4 separate regions of the Homo sapiens genome follow, and regions 2, 3 and 4 are each linked to region 1. Evidence: promoter capture Hi-C in human tissues and cell types (Jung and others, 2019). All regions are on one chromosome and are shown on one strand. Each heading gives the region's core, a stretch centred on a gene start or on the middle of the fragment in contact. The rest is flanking DNA. Distances are from core to core; before and after follow the strand shown. Region 1 holds the start of IL11RA (interleukin 11 receptor subunit alpha). Region 2 has its middle 15 kb from the start of DNAJB5. Region 3 overlaps PHF24 (PHD finger protein 24). Region 4 overlaps MYORG (myogenesis regulating glycosidase).

Region 1 (3,063 bases), core at 236-2,735:
CTGTGTTTTCACACAGCCAGACACAGTCACATTCACACACAGACTCAAGAGGCACAGTTAACAAAAGGGCATGCCTTTGAACACACGTGGACACAATCAAATGAAAAATCAGATACAAACTCCCCCTCTTTTCACTCCTCACCAAATGTTTCCTTAGGGTACAGCTGGCTGTGCTTCCAGGGGAAGGGAGGCCCCAGGTTGGGGGATATAAGGAGAGGCCAAAGAGTCCAGTTCCCCCTCCCCTGGAAGTTCCAGCCATTTCTCACCTCCCCCTCCATTCTTTGGGCCCCAGCACCAGGAAATGCCTTTGGTCCCTTGGTGCCAGATACACAAGACCCACAGTTACCCTCAGACTCATACACTCTCACATGCGGTCACTCACAGTCACACGGGCACAGCCACACCGCCTCAGACTCAGACACACTTACACATATTCATACACTCACGCAGTCACACACGCACACAGCCCCTACCAGGGCTCACAGCACCGCCTAAAAGCAACTCTTCATCATGGTCTAAGCCCCCTCTCTCAGGGAGCTCTTAGCCGGGGCAGACCCGCATCTCATCACTGTTACAGGCCCCCAACTAGCCAGAGATCAAGATCAGCAGGGAAGGCAGGCATAGGGGCACAGAGAGAGACAGAGAGAAAGGAAAGGCAAAACTGGAAATGCACCCACACAGAGAGACCAGGGGAACAAAGCTGTGAAGAAACACACAGAGGTATCTCTAGTAAGACAGCAATAGGGACAGAAAACGGCACGTAAGGGAAACTGAGCCAAGCAGGGAAACAGAAAATAAGGAGCAGTAGACCTGATGCTGGGGATTCTTGAGCAGAGGAAGGAGGGGAAGCCACGTGTGTTGTGGGTGTGTCTGTCAATGCTGGACACTTAAGAGAAAGGTCAGTCCCATGGGCTCTTGAGGTAGGTCCCCCAATACATGAATACAGCTGTACTCCCACACGGTTTAAGTTAGGACCCAGGACACACACATAGTCACAAACCTCACTTTTGCTCTGCTACTGCTGAAGTCACACATTGGCACACACAAAGCCAGCCACCCACTCTCACGCTGGCAGACATGGTCTCAAACCCCACAGAGACCTTCCCAAAACACATTCCCTCATGTGGTCACAGTCCCTCTCACACAAACACACAACCCAGTCCCACCAAAAATGTGCATTGACAGATACACACATAATCCCACACTTGCACAGCCACATGCACCTCCAGCTCCATGCACACTGACACACGCAGTCACATTAGCTGACAGCTGCACCAAGTGACACTCAGAATCGCACACAATGATACTGTCACACAGACACAGCCTCACAGGCACATACACACTGACAGTCGTTAGTCACTCCCGGCCTTTCAGATCATACATCACCCTGCCCCGCCCACTCCTGACAAGACTTTGGCGTCTACACCAGGCCTCACCTTCCGCGGCCGCTGCCGCCAGCGCCCTCTGCCCTCGCCCTCGCCCTCTGCCCCGGCCTCTACTCCCTCCCGCCCTGGGCCCCCGCAGCGGGGGTGGCTCCGCCCAGGCGCCAATGGAAGGAGAGGAGTGAAATAGGGGGGCTCCTGGCCCATTGGAGACTCCAACTGCCAATCACCTCCACCCCCACCTCCGCCGGACACTTCCTGTCCCGTCCCGGACTGAAGAGGCTGCTTGGGACAGAGTCTGGAGCTGGATTCCTGGGTCTCCGCCTGAAGGCCTATCCACCCTGGAACAGCAGGACTGGAAACAAGAGCCACTGGCCAGGTGATTGGAGAAGCTGAAGGTGCCCCTGACTCCAGATAAGATAAAGAAGAAGGAGGGCTGTGTAGGGCAGTGGTTCTCAAACTTTGCTGGATATTGTGGTTTGAAAACTGCAAAACCCCACCCCATACCAATTAAATCAGAGTCTCTGGAGGTTGGACCTAGGCACCAGTATTGTTTAAAACTTCCCAGATGATTCCAAAATGCAGCCAAATCAGAGGTGTAAGGTGTGTCGGGTATATGTATGCCTCAAGAAACCAGCCACCCACTCAGGGTTCTCATCTACTCCCCAGTCATGGGAAGCTCGAGGGAAATGTGTGCATACTATGTCTATCAGATCTTCCAGACCAGGGCAACACTCCCAAGTTCCAGGTACTTCCCCTCCAGGATCTCAGGGAAGAAAAACCCTGGTCTGGAAGGCAGGCAGCCAAGTTTCTCCTGGGCCAGATTCAGTCACTGTCCAGCCTTAGTGTGATTTCCCCACCCACAGGCTTGGTTCCCCTGGGGAAAGAACGAAGGCAAAAACCATTCTGGCCATCCCTGCATCATTCACAATGCCTGCCTTCGCCTTAAAATTTGGAGGACACCAGTGGCATCAGGTCTCCTGTGTTGCATAGACTGTTGTTCCCACAGCGTTGCCAGGGAAACAGGTCCAGAGGGGACTGAATAGACCCCAGGTCACTCTGAGAGCCATACCTTCCTTCCAGGCCCTAGGGTTCCTAACTCTAGCAGTCCCTTCTCTGTCAGAGCTGTTTCTGTTTGTGCAATGATTGGGGCACAAGGGCAGCAGAAGTATATGGTGCCCGCACATGTGAGAGTCTGGAGGAGCCAAGGACACAAAGCCACGTACACGCTCCCTACACACTCCCTACCCGCCCCTTTAGCCCCTGTGGGCTGGAGCAGAGCCAAGCTGCAGCCACTCACAAAGCCAGGGTTCTGGCCAGCAGCCCAGGATCTGGCCACTGACCACTGGGATCAGGATCCAGCTCACCCGCTCCCCATCAAACCCTCAGGCCCAGGCTTGGAGCTGACACCCTAGGGGTGGTGGCAAAGGGGGCTCTGGCCTTCCCAAAGCCTCAGCCACAACCAAGACACAAGATTTTAAAACAGTTTCCTAAACTGGGAATGCTGTCATTACACCAAGAGTAAGAGAATCTATAGGCTAGATATAATACTGAATATTAATTTTGTTCAGAAATTTGGGGTAGATTTTTGCATCAAGATTTTACACATCTGTAGACAAAGAAAAGTTGTAGCTGGAGCTATGCCTTTAGCTTTTAACCCTAGATCTCTGAAGGTTCACAC
Region 2 (7,317 bases), core at 2,536-5,035, 350 kb before region 1:
TTACTTATCCAGTGAAAGTGTCTACTTAGACTAAGAGGTATTTTTGTTTTCTGACTCGGGGCATGTTGAGTAAAGCCAATTTGCCAGTCCTGGGTAGGGGCAAATCTCCGAGCTTGATGTGTAGGGAAGGGAGGGGGCCTGAATAATCCTTGAGGAGTAGTAGAATAGCAGATAGAACACTGAGAAGTTATTTCCTTGAGGATAGATTGCCATGATGGAAAGGAAATGAGAGGTTCTAAGAAGTGGGCTAGTGGCTTGTACTATAGCATAGCCTGCCTTTGCTGGTGTGTGGCCATTAGGCCTGGTGGAACTGCCATCAATAAACCAAGTGTGATCAGGGTGAGGAACAGGAAAGAAGGAAATATGGGGAAATGGGGTGAATGTCAGGTGGATCAGAGAGATACAGTCATAGGGGACAGGTGTGGTATCAGGAATAATGTGGGAGGCCGGATTGAAGTCTGGGCCAGGAACAGTGGTAATTGTGGGAGACTTAACAAAGAGTGAGTACAGCTGAAGGAGCCGGGGAGCAGAAAATATATGTGTCAGGTGTGAAGAAGAAAATAGATTTTGGAAGTTATGAGAACTGTAGAGAGTGAGTTGAGCATAGTTTGTTATATTAAGGGCCTCTAAAGTATTAGGGCGGCAGCAGCCACTGCACGGAGACAGGATGGCCAGCCTAAAACAGGAAGGTGAAGTTGTTTGGACAAAAAGGCTACAGGACGTGATCCTGGTCCTTATGTAAGAATTCTGACTGCACAGCCCTGCACTTCAGCTGTGGGTAATGAAAAGGGTTGAGATGAGTCAGGGAGAGCTAGGGTGGGGGCAGTCTCTAAAGCTGTCTTCAAGGAATGGAAAGAGGAGTGGGGAAAGGATTTAGAATCTATGGGTCAGCTAGGTTTCTTTTTGTGAGTTTATATAATGGTTTTGTTAGGATGGCAAAACCAGGTATCTAAAGTCAAAAGTATCTAACTATGCCTAGGAAGGAAAGGAGTTGTTGTTTTGTAGAAGGTGTTGGGGTTTGAGAGATCAGCTGGACATGATCAGCAGGGAGAGCACATGTGTTTTTATGAGAATTACGCCGAGATAGGTAACAGATGAGGAAGAAATTTGCGCTTGACTGAAGTAATGGGGGCTGTCTGTGAAGCTTTGTGGCAGTACAGCCCAGGTAATTTGCTGAGCCTGATGGGTGTCAGGGTCAGTCCAAGTGAAAGCGAAGAGAGGCTGGGATGAAGGGTGCAAAGGAATAGTAAAGAAAGCATGTTTGAGATCTAGAACAGAATAATGGGTTGTGGAGGGAGGTATTGAGGATAGGAGAGTATATGGGTTTGGCACCACAGGGTAGATAGGCAAAACAATTTGGTTGGTAAGGTGCAGATCCTGAATTAACCTGTAAGGCTTGTCTGGTTTTTGGACAGGTAAAATGGGGGAATTGTAAGGAGAGTTTATAGGCTTTAAAAGGCCTTGCTGTAACAGGTGAGTGATAACAGGCTTTAATCCTTTTAAAGTGTGCTGTGGGATGGGATATTGGCATTGAGCGGGGTAAGAGTGATTAGGTTTTAATGAGATGGTAAGGGGTGGATGATTGGTTGCTAAGGAGGGAGTAGAGGTGTCTTATACTTGTGGGTTAAGGTGGGGAGATACAAGGGGAGGATGTGAAGGAGGCTTTGAACTGGGGGAAAAGGTGGCAATGAGGTGTGGCTGTAGCCTAGGAACAGTCAGGGAAGCAGATAATTTAGTTAAAGTGTCTCAGCCTAATAGGGGAACTGGGCAGGTGGGGATAACTAAAAAGGAGTGCTTAAAAGAGTATTGTCTAAGTTGGCACCAGAGTTGGGGAGTTTTAAGAGGTTTAGAAGCCTGGCCGCCAATACCTACAACAGTTATGGAGGCAAGGGAAACAGGCCCTTGAAAAGAAGGTAATGTGGAGTGGGTAGCCTCCATATTGATTAAGAAGGGGACGGCTTACCTTCCACTGTAAGAGTTACCTAGAGCATCTGTGATGGTCCTGTAAGCTTCTGAGGTAATCGGGCAGTTTCAGTCTTCAGCTGCTAAGCCGAGAAGATCTGGGAAGGAGTCAGTCAGAGAGCCTTGGGCCAGAGTTCTAGGGGCTGTGGGACTGGTTGCCAGGTGAGTTGAACAGTCTGATTTTCAGTGGGGTCCTGCACAGATGGGACGCGGCTTAGGAGGAATCGTGGGCTGCGGGCATTCCTTGGCCTGGTGGCCAGATTTCTGGCACTTGTAGCAAGCTCCTGGGGGAGGCGGGCCTGGGGGAACGCCTGGCCACTGCGACTTAGGCGTTTGGAAGTTCTTTTGTGCTGGAGATGTGGCTGGGGTTTGTCTCACAGTGGAGGCAAGGAATTGCAACTCAGAAATATATTGCTACTTGGCTGCCTCTACTCTATTATTGTACACCTTGAAGGCCAGGTTAATTAGGTCCTGTTGTGGGGTTTGAGGGCTGGAATTTAATTTTTGGAGTTTTATTTAATGTCGGGAGCAGATTGGGTAATAAAATAAAATGCATATTGAGAATAAGATGGCCTTCTGACCTTTCAGGGTCTAGGGCTGTAAAGCGTCTCAGGGTTGCTGCCAAACGAGCCATGAACTGGGCTGGGTTTCTCATATTTGATGAAAAAGAGCCTAAACGCTAACTGATTTTGGGAGAGGTCGGATAAAGAAAAAGGAGCGTTAACCTTGACTATGCCTTTATATCCAGCCATCTTTTTAAGAGGAAATTGCTGGGCAGGTGGGGGAAGGCTGGTTGAGGAATGAAACTGTAAGCCGGACAAGGTGTGAGGAGGGGAGGTGATAAAAGGATTATAGGGTGGGGGAGCAGAGGCTGAGGAAGAATTGGGACCTGGCTCTGCCTGGTGAGGAGGGGAGAGGTCAGATGGGTCTGTAGAAAAGGAAGATTAGAAAGACTCAGTGATGCTTGGGGTTGGGACTGAGGGGACAGGTGGGAGGGAAAGAAGGAAGATTTGGGACTGGTTGCATTGGGAACAGAGACCAGGGAGGAACCGATGTGTAAAAGAATGCCTGGACGTCAGGCACCTCAGACCATTTGCCTAATTTATGACAAGAATTATTTAGATCTTGTAGGATGGAAAAATTAAAAGTGCCATTTTCTGGCTATTTGGAACTACTGTTGAGTTTGTATTGGGGTCAAGCAGCATTGCAGAAGAAAATAAGATGCTTAGATTTTAGGTCAGGTGAGAGTTGAAGAGGTTTTAAGTTCTTAAGAACACAGGCTAAGGGAGAAGGAGGAGGAATGGAGGGTGGAAGGTTGCCCATAGTGAAGGAAGCAAGCCCAGAGAAAAGAGAGTAGAGACACGGAGGGAAGGGGTTCGGGGGTTCTTACCCTCCAGAAAAGCAGGAAAGGGGTCGGGGCACAGAAATAAGGGGTTGGGGTGCAGAGATAAGAGGTCAGGGTGCGGAAATAAGGGATTGCGGTGTGGAAATAAGGGATCGGGGCACAGAGATAAGAGGTTGGGGTGCGGAAATAAGGGATCGGGGCGCAGAGATAAGAGGTCGGGGCATGGAAATAAGGGATCGGGGCTCAGAGATAAGGGGTCAGGGCGTGGAAATAAGGGATGGGGCACAGAGATAAGAGGTTGGGGCACAGAAATAAGGGATCGGGGGTTCTTGCCCCCAGAAAAGCAGAGAAGGGGTAGAGACACGGAGAGAAGGGGTTGGGGGGTTCTTGCCCCCTAGAAAAGTGGTACTTGCAGCTAAGGGTGAAGGAGAAGGGGTTGGGGGGGTTCTTGCCCTCTAGAAAAGCAGAGGAGTAGAGACATGGAGAGAAGGGGTTGGGGGGTTCTTGCCCCCTAGAAAAGCAGTACTTGCTGCTAAGGGTGAAGGACCAAGGCAGGTGTCCCCATGTGGTCAGACACCTCTGAAACATGGGTGAAAAATCAGAGAGGTGTCCCTGCAATGATTAAACACCAAGGGAAGGCTGCCTTCCTTAGTCCGTGACTGGCGCCAGAGTTTTGGGTCCAAGGATAAAATGTGTCTCCTTTGTCTCTACCAGAAAATGAAAGGAATTGAAAGTAAGAGAGGGAGAGATTGAAGGGTGGCGCCAAGATTGAAAGGAGAAAGTGGTTGAGGGATAGTGAGAGAGGTTGGAGAAGAGAGTAAGAAGAGGCCGCTTACCCGATTTAAAATTGGCGAGATGTTCCTTGGGCTGGTGGGTCTGAGGACCCGAGGTCGTAGGTGGATCTTTTTCACAGAGCAAAGAGCAGGAGGACAGGGGATTGATCTCCCAAGGGAGGTCCTCCAATCTGAGTCACAGCACCAAATTTCATGCGCGTCTGTGTGAAGAGACCACCAAACAGGCTTTGTGTGAGCAACAAGGCTGTTTATTTCACCTAGGTGCAGGCGGGCTGAGTCCGAAAAGAGAGTCAGCCAAGGGAGATAGGGGTGGGGCCGTTTTATAAGATTTGGGTAGGTAAAGGAAAATTACAGTCAAAGGGGGGTTGTTCTCTGGCGGGCAGGGGGGGCGGTCACAAGGTGCTCAGTAGGGGAGCTTTTGAGCCAGGATGAGCCAGGAGAAGGAATTTCACAAGATAATGTCATCAGTTAAGGCAGGAACAGGCCACTTTCATTTCTTTTGTGGTGGAATGTCATCAGTTAAGGCAGGAACCGGCCATCTGGATGTGTACATGCAGGTCACAGGGGATATGATGGCTTAGCTTGGGCTCAGAGGCCTGGCAAGTATAATGTGGCATTTCTGGAAATCAGACTCCCCACCCCGACCCCAAGCTTTGTTGTTGCTATTTGTCATTGTTGTTTGCTTGTGTCGTGACTTTACTAATTGTGTAAATTGTGTATTTTTTTTTGTTGTGTGTGGCCACTGAAGTGTCTGCTTGGCTAGCTTAGCCAAAGACTAGACAGAGGTTTCATTAAGTGATTGCACCCAATGAGTCTACCAGTCTTTGCTGGAGGGGTATATACATAAATTTTTCTGGAACTATTTTAGAGTCACTTGCTGGCATACAGGACAACATAGGCTCCCAACCACTGTGGAGCACCAAAGACAAACCAGAGCAGCTGCACATCCTCAGCAGCTCCCAAATTCCAAAATCTTGGGGGATGGAACCATCTCTCCTGGAGTCTCACCTCTGCACAGTGAGGCCCTGGTGGCTACTGTCCTGACTTCTGGTGATTATTTTGCACTGGAGTCTCTCTTTGTTTTAGTCAGTAGAATCTCTAATGCCCACTTTCACTTTCTGGTTTAAATACAGGCTAAAGGTTCCCCACTGCTCCCCCAGCCCCAAACTCTGTTTCATCCCAGCACCTACCTTGGGCCCACCTTCAATCCTCATTCCTGCTCCTATTACTTTCTTTTTCACCCCAGATTAAGGCTTCTGGGGTATCCTTTCCTAGGACGCAGAATGAGGTATAGTCTGTCACCCCAATTGAAGCTCAACATTTGTTGAGAATTTCTAGTTTTTACTCTGTAATTCAGAGATCTTAGGAAGAATTTTGTCTTCCATCTCCCAACCTTGTTCAGTACAGCCTGGCCTCCCAGGACTATGTGCCATTTTCTATTCTTCCTAGAGAATTTCCTATAAGCAATAATATTTGGAACCAACTAGAGCACTGCTTTTGAAAGAGGCTCATGTAGCACTAGTGGGTCCTGGCCTAGAGGATCCAAGAGCTTTTGGTGCCGATGCAGCCTCAGGGCAAATAACAGACACATCTCAGCTAAGGAACAATCATAGATTCTTACAGCCCTCAAGGTACTTATGGGTCAAAGCAGCAAGGGTCTAAGGAAGAATTGATTGGGCACCCAAGAAGCTTCCATATGAGGGGCCCCCCGCCAAGTTTCAGAATGACCTAGGGAAGGGTCTGAGGCATAGCCTGAGAAAGAGTCCCAAAGGTAACCTATCAAGGTGTTCAGAAAGCTACTCAGTAGGGGTTTTGGGGGCTGATTCATCAGAGGAGACCAAAAAAAATGACTTGTTGAGTCACTCAAGGAATGGGTCAGGAAATGACATAAATGCATTCAAGAGAGAACCTAGACTGGAAGCAACTGGAAAACACCCTGAAAGTTCACTTGGGCAGGTGGCCTATATATGTGTGTTGTTCATAGCTTGCTGACAGTGATATATTGCTCCCTTCTGGGAAGTCCTATAGCTACTTGAAAACTGGAAATTTGGCACCCTCAGTGCAGGAACACTGCCTAAATACCTCTTGGAAGCTTTCCTTTCTTGATGCAGGTGCTACACAGGCACTAGAAGCCTAAGTGGTATGGTTTTGAGCATGGCAGAGATAGAGTTTACCTCTTTAAAGTCTCTGAATCTGTAAAACTTAAGGTGATAGAGACCCAATCATGGCTCCTTTCCCAAGTCCACCTTTATCCCTCAGCCACCCATGTTTCAGGGATGGCTAAATTGAGGTTGCTTAGTTCCTTGAAACAAACAGGCAGGTCGGGAGATAAGCTGATCACAAGAAATTCAACCCCCACCCTGGAAGTCCTTTCCCTGCCTCCTCAACTGTGAGCAAGGAAGTCCAGAGGACCCTGAGTTCAAGGAGGAGAGCAAACAAACTTTTTAGCTCCTTTTGCCCTCTCCATGGACAAGTCGTGTCAGAGTGGGACTATTTGAGGGCCAAGAGAGGCAGTCCAGAGTTACTTCAAGTTAGACAAAGGCAGGACACACCCAACAGATGAGAGTGGAGTTGTATCCCAACAGACTCTGGCCATGGAGGAGCATTGTCTGGAGGCAGAAGGGGCTCACCACAGAGCATAGCATCTTCTTGGAGTTTTTTCTTTAGGAAAAGGATATGGGAGATTAGGTATTTCTTTAAGAGCCGAAGAAGACAGGGAGGTAGGAAGTCCAAAGAGACTTCAGTTCCTAAGCCACAACAGGAAGATGTCCAGGAGATAAATGCCTATCTGAGTAGTCAAGGAGCTCCGGTGACTAAGGAATACTCCCCAACCAAGAATACTGGTTGCCCAAGATCCAGGATGGCCAAGCCTTAAGGGGATATTACTGTCATACAAGATGAGCAAATGATTGTCATAGTACTGTCATTACAAAATCACACACACATACACACACACCCCTACTATAAAAACATTCAAGGGCTTATCAATGTGAGAAAACCCGATAAAGACCCCAACCCCTCAGGACCAGATTGAACTAGTCTCTCCCACAGCTCTTTTACTATCTTGACTTTTCTACAGCTCTGTGCATGCATGCCTGTCTCTAGGGATGGTTACACAGGCATCACAATAGCAGAAATTCCTCATGCAGTCTCTAAGAAGGGTAAGGTTCAAATTGCAGGTAAGGTTGCAGTCAGCCTTAGGACTTTCTCATTGAA
Region 3 (7,317 bases), core at 2,512-5,011, 320 kb before region 1:
CGTCTGTGAGATCGAGCAGCCCAAGGCCAGTGGCACAGGAGATGATTTGCCAGGAGAGTAGGTAAGAGCCCCTGTGCTTAATGTGCTTTCATCTCAGTGCAAAACCCCAGGCCTGGCTGCTTCAGATGCAGTTCTTAGGCCCAGGAGTCCTGCGCTTTCTTGTTTTGACTAGACTGAATAATGGCCCCTCCTATGGATCAATCCTGGGGGACGGCTGAAGAGCATTTCTAAAAGCTGTGGGCCATACACCTGAGCCCAGATTTGTCTCCTGTCTGCTTCATTTCAGTCCCAAATAATCCAACCCCAGCAGCTCACCACCCTGCTTCCAGCTAAGGTGGTTCCTACAGGAGGAGACTACACAGGGCTCTCAAGAAGCCCCTGGCCGCAGCTCCTTGCTTTCCTCGAAACATTCAGCACCGAGCGGTGTGTGTTCTTCTGTACGCACCCGATTTAGCACAAGGGCCTCGAGCAATGAAGACGTGTTTGCTTCTGCATGACTGCACTCCACTCCCTTTTGAATAACTCTTGGTAGTCAGATCTCGCTATGCCTAAGTCATTAAGTTGGAAACAGAAGCCTAGAACATGGACCCCACGGCCGGCCAAGATGAGCCATAACACACGGACTGAAGAATTTGAATTTGATGAGTACTTAGGAAGGAGGGCTGGGGCTTGGAGGCCAGGCTTGGTGCTCTTGTGGCAGCCTCTGATTGCCCCAAAAGGCCTTCCATGCCAGGCCCAAGCCCTAGCCTGCTGGGGAAGGACATGTGATGAGCAGTGAGGAGAAGCAGCCACTCAAGCCGAGTCTCAGTGATAGGGAGAAGCGGAAAACTTCTTCTGTAAGGCTTTCCCAGGACCTTCTCTGCAGAGCCTCTTCTTAAGCCCCAGCCTCTTATCCTGTTTGTCAGGATGGCTGAAAGAGTCCCTGCTCAGGGCTCTGCAGATCTTTCTTGGGCTGTGGAAGGTGTCTACAGTTGAGTTGAGCTGGAATGATGAGGAAGCAGAGCCCCGTTCTCTCCTCTTCCTCCAGAGTGTGCTCTCGTCAGTCTCTGTGGTCGGTGACTTGGGTGAAGCATCTAACACAGAGGGCTGTGGCTCCTGCCAGTGTGTTTGCTCCATTCAGGCCCCCTTGGCCCTAGGCCATGAGCTACCATCTGAAAAATGGGGCCAAGAAGGCTCACCTTGATTTTTGACTACCCTGCTAAAGACTTTTGGACTCAGGTGACCTGACTGAGAGGTTCCTAGAATCCCGAGTCCCTGGGAAGGGCTGCCTCCCCCTCTTCCAGTCAGGATTCTCCAGGCTAGTTGCCTTTTCTGTCACCAGGAATTGGAATTTAAATAAATAAAGGGCTGAATTTCAGTGGTGATGTTTAACTCTTTTCCCAACTCAGTACAGCCGAGGTACATAATGCACACCTACTAGTAACAGCAGCTGACTGCAGAAGGGATTTTTGGTGGAGAAAGCGGGGCCCATTAGGATCTCCAGGAGCTCTAGGCAGGCATGCGAGTCTGACATGCCCCCTTCCTAAGAATCACTTGGCCAGAGACTTATCTATTGGAAATTAGAACTGGCCTGCCTATAGAAGGGGTGAGTAGAGACCCCCTCCTCTATACCAGGGGCTTCACAAAGGGACTTTGGTCCTTTCTCAACCAAAAAGAACCAGGCTTCTGAAGGCATGGACAGCTGGGCAGCATGTGCACATGTATATAAGTGTGGTGGCAGGTCCCGTCTATGATGTGGGGCAGGGGCGGTCCAGGAGAGGATGCTGCCACAGCTCCCAGGGCTTCTCCTTGTGGCAATGCATTCACTGCCTCTATTGTGAGGGGAATGGTGATTTCAGTGCCTTAAAGCTTAGTGACAAGTTAAGACGCTGGCAGTGTCCCAACCCCATGAGTCTCTGTGCCAGAGGTTGGTGGGGGAAGGGAGAAAGGAAAGGAGGGAGAGGATGTCACTGTCCTCAAACCGAGCTTCTCTGCTCCATGCTATCCTGGGGGCTTCAGGTGAATGGCTGCGCTGTTGGGGCGAGCAGCCAGGATGTAGAGGACATTCTCTTGCAGGAAGGTAGGCCAGTCCACAAATCTGGAGTGGAAGCAAAGAACAGAGTCGTGAGGCTGGTTTGAAGACACGTGAGCCCTGATCCCAGGGGCAGCATGGCTTGAGGAGGCTGGTTTGAAGACGCGTGAGCCCTGATCCCAGGGGCAGCATGGCTTGAGCTACACAAAACTCAGGGAAGCTTGGCTCATGCCTGACCTGGCTATGGCTGGCTGTGCTACCAGGCCAACAGACCAGCTGGCTGGTCCTATAGACTTGGGTCAAATGTGCACTCTTGGAGCCTGGTTTCTTGGGTGGGCGCTTGCTGTTTTGGAGTGGGAGTGGGTAATGCCCTCTCTTACTTGTGTGTTTTGTGGGGGTTCAGAGGGTACAAATGGCCAGGTGAGGAGGTCCTACTCACCTGGACTCCTGCTCTGTGGGCAGCAGGGTCTTGTCCTGACTCTTGCTGCTGCTGCTGGCTGGGCTGCTATCTGCGATGGGACCCACATGGCTGATGCTGCTGGGCATGAGGACACGTGGTTAGGAGTGGGATAGTGAAATGCCTGCCCCCTCCCAAACTCTGGTAAGCCCAAGGCTCTGGACATGCTCATCCAGGCTCTTCTGACATGTGGCAACACCGAGTTGAAGGCAGAGGCTGTCCTATGCCCTGGCCCGTAGGCATCACCATCCTCTACCTAATGCACAGGAGGCTCCTCTCTCGGCTGTTGGCAGGGGGAGCAGGGAGGTATGGAAGGGCCACTGGCATGGAAAAGGGAGGAGGAGAGGCTGAGTGGGGACCAGGACTGGTAAGGAGCAGACCTGACACTGCAGGAAGGAGCCTCTGGGAACCGTTTGCAAAACCAAGAGTGCTGGGCCCGGCGGCACTCTGCCTCACTGACGGTGCTCCCACTGCCCCGAGCCAGGAAGGCGGCTCGGGCTCGCTCCCGCTCCTTCACTGTCAGAAGCCTCAACAGAGAGTTCTGGGGAAGAAGAGACAAGATCTTAGAGGTGAAGATATCTTGTAAACTGCCAAGCCATAGAGAATCCTATCTCCATTACCACCTTTGCAACCTCCCTTAGAAGCTGCCCAGAGCCCTTCTGGAGGCATCAGCACTTCCAGTGCGGCCCAGGGCAGATCAGTCTTCCTCACGCAGTTTCCTCAGCCTGGGCACCAGATCATCTGTCACTGGATGGAACCTGAGCCCATTCCTGATACTTGTCCCTGCTTGAGCAGGACCCAGTGCTCCCCCAATCTGCCCAGCGTGCCTCCCAGGCCCTTGTCACCCAGTATCCCAGGAACATTTGCCCCAACTGGCCCTCACCTGGGGACGCAACTGCTGCAGAAGCAGGAGGGACTCATGGGACAAGAAGTCAGGCCACTCTATGTGGCCTCGATGTTCAGGGTCCAGGGCAGCAAACTGGCGGGCCGCCTGCTCTTCTTGCTCCTCACTCAGGGCCCTGTCACGGTCCCCCCGCTTGGCTGCTTGGTGGCGGTAACGCAGAAAGTCCTCCAGTGTCAGGGAGCAATCTGTGGGAGGCACCCCGTGCTAGCCATGCCCATCCTTCCTCAGCCTCAGGGCACCTCCATCACCTCCAGGGCACCCTCGGGGCCCCCAAACCCACAGCTCTTGCTAAGTCTCTGCCTCCCATGGCCAGGGTCACCCAGGCTGTGACAGGGATAGGTGACTCTGCTGGCCAACAACTCAGGAACAAGGACTCATTTACCCTCTACCCACTAAATATGGAACACTCCTTTCATGGTTCATTCTAGAAAGCCTGAAGGAGAAATCTGCCCGGCCCCTCTCCATCCATGCAGCACCACCCAACCTTACCAGGGATGACTTTACACCGCTGAAAGGTCTCCGTGAGGCTATACATTTCCTCCTCAGTAAGCAGCAAGTTGATGTTGTCCTGAAAATAAGGAAGAGCTGAGTCGGTGGCCATACAGGCCAGTAAGAAAGGCCAGGGTCAAGGGGGCTAGAAATAGAATTTCAACTGGAAAGCAGTTCCAAGATCATCTAATCCCAGCCTCCTATTCACAATCAATGAGATTGAGGCCCCAGAGAGGAGAAAGGACTTGGCCAGAGTTGTCTTTACTCTGGGGCAGAATCTTCCCCAAGAACCCAGATATCCTGACTCCAGCACTGAGTCCCTTTACTAAAACAGTGGTTTTCTCCTCTGAGCTAACCTAGGGATTTCTTGGAAGTGCCTTAGGAAGCTGCTGCAGGGAATAAGGGGGCTAGTGAGTAGGCAGGTTGTGAATCCCTATCTCCATCAAGCAGAGCGGCTCCATCTCCATCCCTTTTATCTACTTGGCTTCTGTGTTAGGCTGTGCTAAAAATGTATTTTAGTTAAAAAAAAAAAAAGTTTAATCCTAGCTCTGCTCCAAGTGGGTTGTATCACTTTAAATAACCCCAGAATGGTTTTAAAAGATGCCATTATTACAAGGCTCCTAAAGCCAAATGAGTTTTTTTGTAGTGCCACAGAAGTTTTAATTCCAAAGGAGCACCAATATCTTATTGTGTTGACGTTACCATACAGTCTTTAAACTATCAAAGATCCTTTCTAGTACAAGGTCATTTTCTTCCTCTGAGATACCCGCAAAGTACAAGAGCAGATATTTCATGAGTATTCATACGTGGATTTCATAAAGAACTCAAACCATTCTTTTTCTTCCATAACACTTTTTAAAAACTAATATATAATAGTTGTATTTTTCTTTCAAACCATACTTTCAATAAACACCTACTGAGCACCTAGTAAACACTGGGCGCCACAGTGGTGTGTAACACTGTGAGATGTTCAGTGTGGCTGAGGTTTGGAGTACATGTGAGTGTGTGTGTGAGGGAAGGAGGGGGCCTACTATGAAGTACCTCCAATACCCTTTATCGAGCCCCTCAAATTAGGCCTTTATTCTGAGGGCAAAAGGGAGCCACCAAAGGGTTTTCAAGTGGGGAGTGCCGTGGTCAGATCTCTGGCTGCTGTGTGGAAGATGGATTAGAGCGGCAGAGTCTGGAGGTGTGGAGAGCAGTTGGGGGCTGCCGCAACAGTCCAGGCAAGAAATGATGAGCAGCTAAACTGAGACATGAGAATGAAGAAGGGAAGAGAGATATTAGAGGCAGCATCATCAGGACCTGATGACTCACTGGATGTGAGGCATGAGGGAGAGATTGAACTGGAATTGGTAACTGGGGCATGGTATTACTATTCACAGAGATAAGGAGTGGAGGAAGAGCAGGTTTGGGGGCAAAGATGAGTTCATTTTGGGGCATGATGAGTGTGAAGTACTTGTGAGATATCAAGGTGGATAAGTGCAAGAGACAGGAAATTTAGGTCTGGACACACAGAAATAGGAGTCATTAGTGTTTAGATGGTGGCTGTAGATGAAGTCACCAAAGAGGGCGCAGTGAGAAAAGAAGAGTATTAAACAACAGAACCCTGAGAAACAGGACTGAGACAAGAAACTAACAAAGGGCATTGAGAAAGAATGGTCAGAGACTAAGGCTGGAAGAGCATCAGTAGAGAAGAAGGTACTGGATACCAAGCAAAGACAGCTGCAGAATGTGGGAGGTAATGTTAACGGTGGTTACACCACTGAGGTGGGATTTTATTGACTTTCTATTTTCTCTCATTTCCATATCTTATGCAATAATTCTCATAAAAATACTTAAATCCTAAAGAAAAGAGAGAGGAATAAAGAAGTAATAAATACTTCAGAGAGATCAAGTAAGAAGATGCCTCAGAAAAGGTCAGTGGACTTGACAATTAGGAGGTGACTGGTGACCTTAGGAAGCAACAGTTCTGCAGAATGATGGATGCAGATGTCAGATTATATGATAGGTGGTTGAAAAACCATAGGAGATGGTGAAATTCTTTTAAGAAGTTTGGCTGTGGGGCCAGGTGCAATGGCTTGTGCCTGTAGTCCCAGCTACTGAGGAAGCTGAGGCAGGAGGATTGCTTAGGTCTAGGAGTTCAAGGCTGCAGTGCTACGATCGCACCACTGCACTTCAGCCAGGTGACACAGTGAGACCCTGTCTCATAAAAAGAAAAAAAAGAAGAAGAAGATTTGTTGGCTGTGAAGGGAAGGAAAGAAAGGAGAGGTACTTGGAAGGAGGCTCTGTAAAAAGCCCAGTGGAGCATGGTGGCAATGATGGTAGGACTGTGTCAGGAAGCTGGGGAGGGAGCAGTGTGTTCCTGGGGGTTAGGGAGGTGACCCCTTCACCCCAGTCCTATAGCAGCAGCACACCGCAAAGCAGAGTGGCCGAGATGAAAGGATGGCATTTGGAAGGGGTGACAGGCACTAGAGAAGGTCGCCGGTACAGCAGGGTCTGCTGCAGTGTACTCCATGGGGACAGGTGTTTCAGTGGCTGAAAATAGCTGTTCCATAACAAGCCATAGAGGAAGAGTTATTTGTTAGAAAGTGGCACATCTCTGCTTTCGTCTAAGCAGCAGGAAGAAGGGGGGATCAGCAGGTGCTCCTCACTCTGAAATCAATAAACAATGACGATATCTGCAGGACAACAGATCAATAAGGCAAGACTTGAACTCTATTCAGGTGTAGTGAGAAATGGATATAAATCTGGCTTTCAATGGAAACCTTAGACTCTGTCCTTCATTAAAAGTTAGAAGGCATTTATATATAATTTGCGAAGTTCTGAATCAATAGAGCTTTGTCATTTAATTCACATAATAACCACTTCAAAGAGGAAGAGCAAATGCTTATGAGTCAGGTGGCAGGCTGAGTGAGGATCTCAGGCCTAGGAAGTTTTCCTGTGATAGAATCTACCCCTACTGGAAGCAAGCTGGTTAGGATCTCAGGTTAGTTTTCATATGGATACAATGAATGACAACTATAGACTATTAGAGAAAGAACTGCTCCAAGCAGAATTACTTTTGAGTAATTAGGCCCCAGTCAATCTCCTAGCTCAGAGGTTCTCTACCGGGGGTGATTTTGCTACCTTCACATTGAGATGTATGCTACCGGCATCTAGGGGATTAAGGCCAGGGTGCCGCTAAACATCCTACAATGCACTTGGCCCCTCAAACAAGTAACTAGCCAGCCTAAAATGTACTGAGGTTGAGAAACCCCATCCTAGCTCTAGGTCTCTTGTATGTACCATTGGAAAAATCTTTTTTTTTTTTTTTTTTTCGAGACAGAGTCTCGCTCTGTCGCCAGGCTGGAGTGCAGTGGCGCGATTTCGGCTCGCTGCAACCTCCGCCTCCTGGGTTTAAGTGATTCTCCTACCTCAGCCTCCCGAGTAGCTGGGACTACAGGCGCGTGCCACCAC
Region 4 (7,317 bases), core at 1,591-4,090, 280 kb after region 1:
TGTGTGCACCTGGGTGGTGCTATTTCTTTGTTGGACTCTGCTCTGAAGCCTGGGACAGGAACGGTCAGTGGCCTTGAGTGGCAGAGTAGGACACACCTCTTCCCCTGAGCCTGTGTTTCCCTGTAGTCATATCTGTATTTTTTTTTTTTTTTTGAGATAGGGTCTCACTTTGTCACCTAGGCTGGAGTGCAGTGGCACAATCTTGGCTCACTGCAGCCTTGACCTCCTGGGCTCAAGCGACCCTCCCACCTCAGCCCCCCAAGTAGCTGGGACTACAGGTGCACACCACCATGCCTGGCTAATTTTTTTTTTTTTTTGTATTTTTGGTAGAGACAGGGTTTCAACATGTTGCCCAGGCTGGTCTCAAACTCCTGAGCTCAAGAGATCTGCCCTCCTTGGCCTCCCAAAGTGCTAGGATTACAGGCATGAGCACCGTGCATGGCCTCATATCTGGATATTTAGCATATAGTGTGTCAGAGTTTATGTGTGTTAGTGGTAGTGGTGGGTGTCTGATCCCTGGAGAGCAGGTAGGTGGAGGAGGTGCGCTGGGCCAAGCTAGGTGGGTGAAATCTCCTGAAGCAGGTGGCCTAAAGGATTTAGGTTGGGGAAGGAACGAGCTTGGTAATCACAAGATAGGCTTGGCTGGAAATGGAATCAGAATGGTAGCTGAGAACACATCATGCCTGGAGCCTCCAGTGCAAAGCAAACACTTTTAAATTTCATCATGGAAGCAATGAGCAGCTCTCGAAGCTAGGGATAGATATGGTTTGATAAGTGCTTTAGAAAGATCACTATGGTTGCCGTGATCAGAAGGCACTGGTGAGAAAGAAGTTAGAGTCAGAGAGGCCTGTTGGGGGAAGCGTTTGGTAATACAGGGGAGAAGTGACAGTGCCCAAACTATGACAGAAACAGGACAGTGGGTGAAACAGAGCGAGGAAGTAGCTGGCCCACAGATGTGGTGCCAGGAGCAAAGCAGGAAGGCAGGCATGGAAATGGATTTGGTGATGGATGATGGCTGAGAGCAGGGTGAGTTTGAGGGCAAAGAGAAGCAGATGTGAGAAACAACTGGCCCCCCATGCCAGGCTCCTGCCCCAGGCCCTAATGTCTGAACCCAACTCTACCTCCCTCCAAACCAGGCCCTGGGACTAAGTCTGGCTTTGGGTGTCTTCTTCAATCTCCAGACTTCATCAGGCTTTTGACTCAGGATAAAAACACATCCCTGAGCTGTTCTCCCTTCCTCCCTCCTCTCCCCCTCTGGGGACAGGGAAGCTAGCCTACCGCCCTGTTAAAAGTCTCAAGGGGGACTGGGCGAGGTGGCTCACGCCTGTAATGCCAGCACTTCTGGAGGCTGAGGCAGGTGGATCACTTGAGGTCATGAGTTCGAAGCCAGCCTGACCAACATGGTGAAACCCTGTCTCTACCAAAAATACAAAAATTAGCTAGGTGTGGTGGTGTGCGCCTTTAATCCCAGCTACTCGGGAGGTTGAGGCAGGAGACCCGCTTGAACCCAAGAGGCAGAGATTGCAGTGAGCTGAGATCATGCCACTGCACTCCAGTCTGGGTGACAGAGAGAGACTCCATTTCAAAAAAAAAAGTCTCAAGGAGCTGGCTGGACAATACCCCCTCTCCCACCCTGACCATCCACACCTCTAGGAGAGCAGGACTTTTCTAGTTCCTTTCCCGTCTCTTCAGCCCGAACGGCCCCATGTGTGATCTGGGGAGGCCTGGCTTATCCTGTGATCCTGGAAAGCTTCCTGACCCTCTCAGGGTTTGTTTCTCCACTAGGAAAATGAGGATGGGTGCCATCTCCCAGTCACATGGGCCGCTCCCCAGTCACAGAGTCCTAATTTGGGCAAGCATTAGGTCCCATGAGAAAGGGTGGGTTAGGCACAGATTGTCCTGGTAAGGGTCTCACCTTTGCCACTCTTCAAGCCCTCAGGTTCCAGTATTCATCTTCCCAAAGTATACACCTCCTCTTAGCTTGCGGCAGCAAATGGAAATATCATGGGATGAGATAGCTCAGTTCCATCTCTGTCTCCTCCTTTCAGAGCAGGTTGAGATGAACTCAGTCAGATGGCCCCACGGCCCGCTCCTTTCTTAGCAGCCCACTAATGCTCCAGAACCCTCAGGAGAAGAGCCAGGCCTACCCCCGCCGCCGCCGGCCTGGCTGCTACGCATACCGTCAGAACCCCGAGGCCATCGCAGCCGCAGCTATGTACACCTTCCTGCCCGACAACTTCTCACCTGCCAAGCCCAAGCCTTCCAAAGACCTGAAGCCGCTGCTGGGCTCCGCGGTTCTGGGGCTGCTGCTTGTGCTGGCCGCGGTGGTGGCCTGGTGCTACTACAGCGTCTCCCTACGCAAGGCGGAGCGACTTCGCGCGGAGCTGCTGGACCTGAAAGCTGGCGGCTTCTCCATCCGCAATCAGAAGGGAGAGCAGGTCTTCCGCCTGGCCTTCCGCTCCGGCGCGCTGGACCTTGACTCCTGCAGCCGCGATGGCGCCCTGCTGGGCTGCTCGCTCACGGCCGACGGGCTGCCGCTGCACTTCTTCATCCAGACTGTGCGGCCCAAGGACACGGTCATGTGCTACCGCGTGCGCTGGGAGGAGGCAGCGCCGGGCCGGGCCGTGGAGCACGCCATGTTCTTGGGCGACGCGGCGGCCCACTGGTATGGTGGCGCCGAGATGAGGACGCAACACTGGCCCATCCGCCTGGATGGCCAGCAGGAGCCCCAGCCGTTCGTCACCAGCGATGTCTACTCCTCCGACGCCGCGTTTGGGGGCATCCTCGAGCGCTACTGGCTATCTTCGCGCGCGGCCGCCATCAAAGTCAATGACTCAGTGCCCTTCCACCTGGGCTGGAACAGCACGGAGCGCTCGCTGCGGCTTCAGGCGCGCTACCACGACACGCCCTACAAGCCACCCGCCGGCCGCGCCGCAGCGCCAGAGCTGAGCTACCGAGTGTGCGTGGGCTCAGACGTCACCTCCATCCACAAGTACATGGTGCGTCGCTACTTCAACAAGCCGTCAAGGGTGCCAGCACCCGAGGCCTTCCGAGACCCCATTTGGTCCACATGGGCGCTGTACGGGCGCGCCGTGGACCAGGACAAGGTGCTGCGTTTTGCCCAACAGATCCGCCTGCACCACTTCAACAGCAGCCACCTGGAAATCGACGACATGTACACACCTGCTTATGGCGACTTCGACTTCGATGAGGTCAAATTCCCCAACGCCAGCGACATGTTCCGCCGCCTGCGCGACGCCGGCTTCCGCGTCACGCTCTGGGTGCACCCTTTTGTCAACTACAACTCGTCGCGCTTCGGCGAGGGCGTGGAGCGCGAGCTGTTCGTGCGCGAACCCACGGGCCGGTTACCTGCGCTGGTGCGCTGGTGGAACGGCATCGGCGCGGTGCTAGACTTCACGCACCCAAAGGCCCGCGACTGGTTCCAGGGACACCTGCGGCGGCTGCGCTCTCGCTACTCCGTGGCTTCCTTCAAGTTCGACGCGGGCGAGGTCAGCTACCTGCCGCGGGACTTCAGCACCTACCGGCCGCTGCCGGACCCCAGCGTCTGGAGCCGGCGCTACACTGAGATGGCGCTGCCCTTCTTCTCGCTGGCGGAGGTGCGCGTAGGCTACCAGTCACAGAACATCTCCTGCTTCTTCCGCCTGGTGGATCGCGACTCTGTGTGGGGCTACGACCTGGGGTTGCGCTCACTCATCCCCGCGGTGCTCACCGTCAGCATGCTGGGCTACCCATTCATCCTACCCGATATGGTGGGCGGCAACGCCGTGCCCCAGCGGACAGCCGGCGGCGATGTGCCCGAGCGCGAGCTCTACATTCGCTGGCTGGAAGTGGCCGCCTTTATGCCGGCCATGCAGTTCTCTATCCCGCCCTGGCGCTACGACGCGGAAGTGGTGGCCATCGCGCAGAAGTTCGCCGCCCTGCGGGCCTCGCTTGTGGCACCGCTGTTGCTTGAGCTGGCGGGCGAGGTCACCGACACGGGTGACCCTATCGTGCGCCCCCTTTGGTGGATTGCGCCCGGCGACGAGACAGCTCACCGTATCGACTCGCAGTTCCTTATTGGGGACACGCTGCTTGTGGCCCCGGTGCTGGAGCCAGGCAAGCAGGAGCGCGACGTCTATTTGCCCGCCGGCAAGTGGCGCAGCTACAAGGGTGAGCTTTTCGACAAGACGCCGGTGCTGCTCACCGATTACCCGGTCGACCTGGATGAGATCGCCTACTTTACCTGGGCGTCCTGACCCAGCCCAGGGCCCGGTAACCGCAAAGCCCCCAGTCTTCATGCAGACCTTGAACCCTCCGTCACACCCGCACCATGTACTCCCAGGAACCTCCCACCTCTATACCACCCATTAAGTGGCTGCTGACTTAAATGTGCTGGAACCAGCTGCTGAAGGTGGGGCCTAGGGAGGGGGCACTGAAGCAATCTCCTGCTCCAACGCACAATCCTTACTGTGCCCTTTCCACCCCCACACTCACACCAATCTGCAGAAACCTCTTCCCTGGGGTGGAAGCCAGAGAGCTTAGAGGAAAAAGGTCAGCTCTCTTCCTGTTATACATGGTTATACATGGTTGGGGTTTAAAAGCACAAAGAGAAACCTCCCCCTCCTGGCTTTCGTGGCCATCTTTGTCCATCTTAGGTGGGGACTTGATCTTATTTAAGGTCTCCAAATAGCCCCCACCACACTTAGAACGTGTGTTTTCTTAGTGTTAGAAGCCAGGCCCTGAGTCCCCAGCACTCACCTGAACTGTGGCTGATTTGGTCCCAGTCCAGCTGGGGAGGTGTTTGGCTGACAAGGAGGCAAGAGATCCCCTCCCAGGGAACAGGAGGACTGGGCTTAGCACAGAGCCATCATCATGTTCCCAATTTGTGAAGAGACTCCTAACACTGCACTAACCCATTTGTGTACATACATGGGCTCAGCCCTGGGCCAAATGTGCCTGATGGGAACAGACTTGCAGGGCCATGCAGGCCAGACTTCGTGCCTTAACTGAAGAGTGTGCGTGTGTGTGTGTGAGAGAGAGAGAGAGAGAGAAACACGCATCATGGGTCCCTGATCTATGAAATGAACACAACCTCTCTGAGGCTGGATGATCTGGAGGAAGGGGGCATGGAGCAAATTTGAGGCTCTGATTGCTGAGCCAGCCTCCTCCCAGGCGGTTTCCCCAGGACTCTCGTAGGAAATAAATAGCCCTTTCAAGATTCCTCAGCTGCCTCACCCCCTGCACATGTGCCTGGGGTGTGGCCTAGAAGGGAGTGATGTTCTTACTCTGGTGGTCTGTGCTTCTGAACACAGGCTACATGCACACACTGACAACTACCAATAAACAGACAGGGGAAGGTCTTTCATCTCAGCCATTTTCTCTTCCCCCCGCCCCCCCTTAGATGGAGTCTTGCTCTGTCACCCAGGTTGGAGTGCAGTGGCACAATCAGCTCACTGCAACCCCTCCTCCTAGGTTCAAGCGATTGAGTAGCTGAGATTACAGGCATGCATCACTATGCCTGGCTTTTTGTATTTTTTAGTAGAGATGGGGTTTACCATGTTGGCCAGGCTAGTCTCAAACTCCTGACCTAGTGATGCACCCACCTTGGCCTCCCAAAGTGTTGGGATTACAGGCATGAGCCACCACGCCAGCCATTTTCTCTTTCTAAGAAGAGCAACCTCAGCCGGAGTGAGTTTTTTCTGACTTTGCAGCTGAGTCTGGAGAAAAGTGGCATGCCAGAGCGGGTCGGTGGGAAACAGGGTGAACTTTAGCTTCCATCAACAGCTCTGGTAGCAAAACCAGTCCCCTACCCCCTAGAGAATGCATCCGTTTCCCCACCTGATATGGTTTGGCTGTGTCCCCACCTAAAACTCATCTTGAATTGTAGCTCCCATAATTGCCATGTGTTGTGGGAAGGACCCAGTGGGAGATAATTGAAATATGGGGGCAGTTTCCGCCATACTGTTCTGGTGATAGTGAATAGATCTCATGAGAGCTGATGATTTTATAAGAGGTTTCCCCTTTTGCTTAGTTCTCATTCTCTCTTGCCTGCCGCCATGTAAGACGTGCCTTTCTGTCATGCTTGTGAGGCCTCCCCAGCCACGTGGAGCTGTGAGTTCATTAAACCTCTTTTTCTTTATAAATTACCCAGTCTTGGTTATGTCTTTATCAGCACTGTGAAAATGAACCTATACAGTAAATTGGTACCAGTAGAGTGGGGCGCTGCTGTAAATACCCAAAAATGTGGAAGCAACTTTGGAACTGGGTAACAGGCAGAGGTTGGAACAGTTTGGAGGGATCAGAAGACAGGAAAATGTGGGAAAGTTTGGGACTTCCTAGAGACTTGTTAAATGGCTTTGACCAAAATGCTGATAATGATTGGGACATGAAATCCAGGCTGAGTTGGTCTCAGATAGCGATGAGGAACTTGTTTGGTACTGGAGTAAAGGTGACTCTTGCTATATTTTAGCAAAGAGACTGGCTGCATTTTGCCCCTGCCCTAGAGATTTGTGGAACTTTGAACTCGAGGGAGATGATTTAGGGTATCTGGCAGAAGAAATTTCTAAGCAGCAAAGCATTCATGAGGTGACTTGGGTGCTGTTAAAAGCATTCAGTTTTAAAAGGGAAACAGACTATAAAAGTTTGGAAAATTTGCAGCCTGATGATGAGATAGAAAAGAAAAACCCATTTTCTGAGGATAAATTCAAGCCCCCTGCAGAAATTTGCATAAGTAACAAGGAGCCAAATGTTAATCACTAAGACATGGGGAAAATGTCTGCAGGGCATGTCAGAGACCTTTGCAGCAGTGCCTCCCATCACAGGCCTGGAGGCCTAGGAGGGAAAAAATGGTTTTGTGGGCCAGGCCCAAGGTCCCCTTGCTGTGTGCAGCCCAGGGACTTGGTACCATGCATCCCAGCTGCTCTAGTCATGGCTAAAAGGGGCCAAGATACAGCTCAGGCCTTGGCTTCAGAGGGTGCAAGCCCCAAGTCTTGGCATCTTCCACGTAGTGTTGAGCCTGCAGGTGCACAGAAGTCAAGAACTGAGGTTTGGGAACCTCTGCCTAGATTTCAGAGAATGTATGGAAATGCATGTATGTCCAGGCAGAAGTTTGCTACAGGAGTGAGGCCCTCATGGAGAACCTCTGTTAAGGCAATGTGGAAGGGGAAGCCCCCACACAGAGACCCCACTGGGACACTGCCTAGTAGAGCTGTCAGAAGAAGGCCACCGTCCTCCAGACATCAGAATGGTATATCCACTGACAGCTTGCACCATGCACCTGGAAAAGCCACAGACACTCAACGCCAGCCTGTAAAAGCA

What was found. The method cuts DNA at HindIII sites, captures the fragments that hold promoters and counts their contacts. A contact is called where the count stands out against the background at its distance.
Region 2: a contact is called between a fragment that was not itself captured here and the fragment with the promoter of IL11RA in region 1, in 2 of the 25 tissues and cell types used here (dorsolateral prefrontal cortex and mesenchymal stem cells).
Region 3: a contact is called between a fragment that was not itself captured here and the fragment with the promoter of IL11RA in region 1, in 1 of the 25 tissues and cell types used here (dorsolateral prefrontal cortex).
Region 4: a contact is called between a fragment that was not itself captured here and the fragment with the promoter of IL11RA in region 1, in 1 of the 25 tissues and cell types used here (dorsolateral prefrontal cortex).

Annotation. Positions count from the first base shown.
Region 1 is chr9:34,650,607-34,653,669 of GRCh38, reverse strand. IL11RA (interleukin 11 receptor subunit alpha) reads right to left here and starts at 1,485. Exons shown (of 13, transcript NM_001142784.3): 1 at 1,437-1,485. GALT (galactose-1-phosphate uridylyltransferase) reads right to left here. Exons shown (of 11, transcript NM_000155.4): 11 at 2,635-3,063. RefSeq lists a silencer at 1,430-1,529. The HindIII fragment of the contact is 13,062 bases long and covers 1-3,063 here.
Region 2 is chr9:35,000,679-35,007,995 of GRCh38, reverse strand. It overlaps the pseudogene LOC100420114. Among named protein-coding and RNA genes, the nearest start is that of DNAJB5, 15 kb to the right of the region's middle. RefSeq lists an enhancer at 4,172-4,672. The HindIII fragment of the contact is 4,415 bases long and covers 1,578-5,992 here.
Region 3 is chr9:34,972,775-34,980,091 of GRCh38, reverse strand. PHF24 (PHD finger protein 24) reads right to left here. Exons shown (of 8, transcript NM_015297.3): 4 at 3,862-3,940; 5 at 3,352-3,557; 6 at 2,849-3,009; 7 at 2,451-2,546; 8 at 1-2,077. The coding sequence ends at 1,981. Among named protein-coding and RNA genes, the nearest start is that of DNAJB5-DT, 13 kb to the left of the region's middle. The HindIII fragment of the contact is 7,622 bases long and covers 1-7,317 here.
Region 4 is chr9:34,367,738-34,375,054 of GRCh38, reverse strand. It overlaps MYORG (myogenesis regulating glycosidase), which reads left to right. Exons shown (of 2, transcript NM_020702.5): 2 at 2,049-7,317. The coding sequence starts at 2,112. The coding sequence ends at 4,256. Among named protein-coding and RNA genes, the nearest start is that of MYORG, 5.5 kb to the left of the region's middle. RefSeq lists enhancers at 2,226-2,726, 2,727-3,227. The HindIII fragment of the contact is 4,230 bases long and covers 726-4,955 here.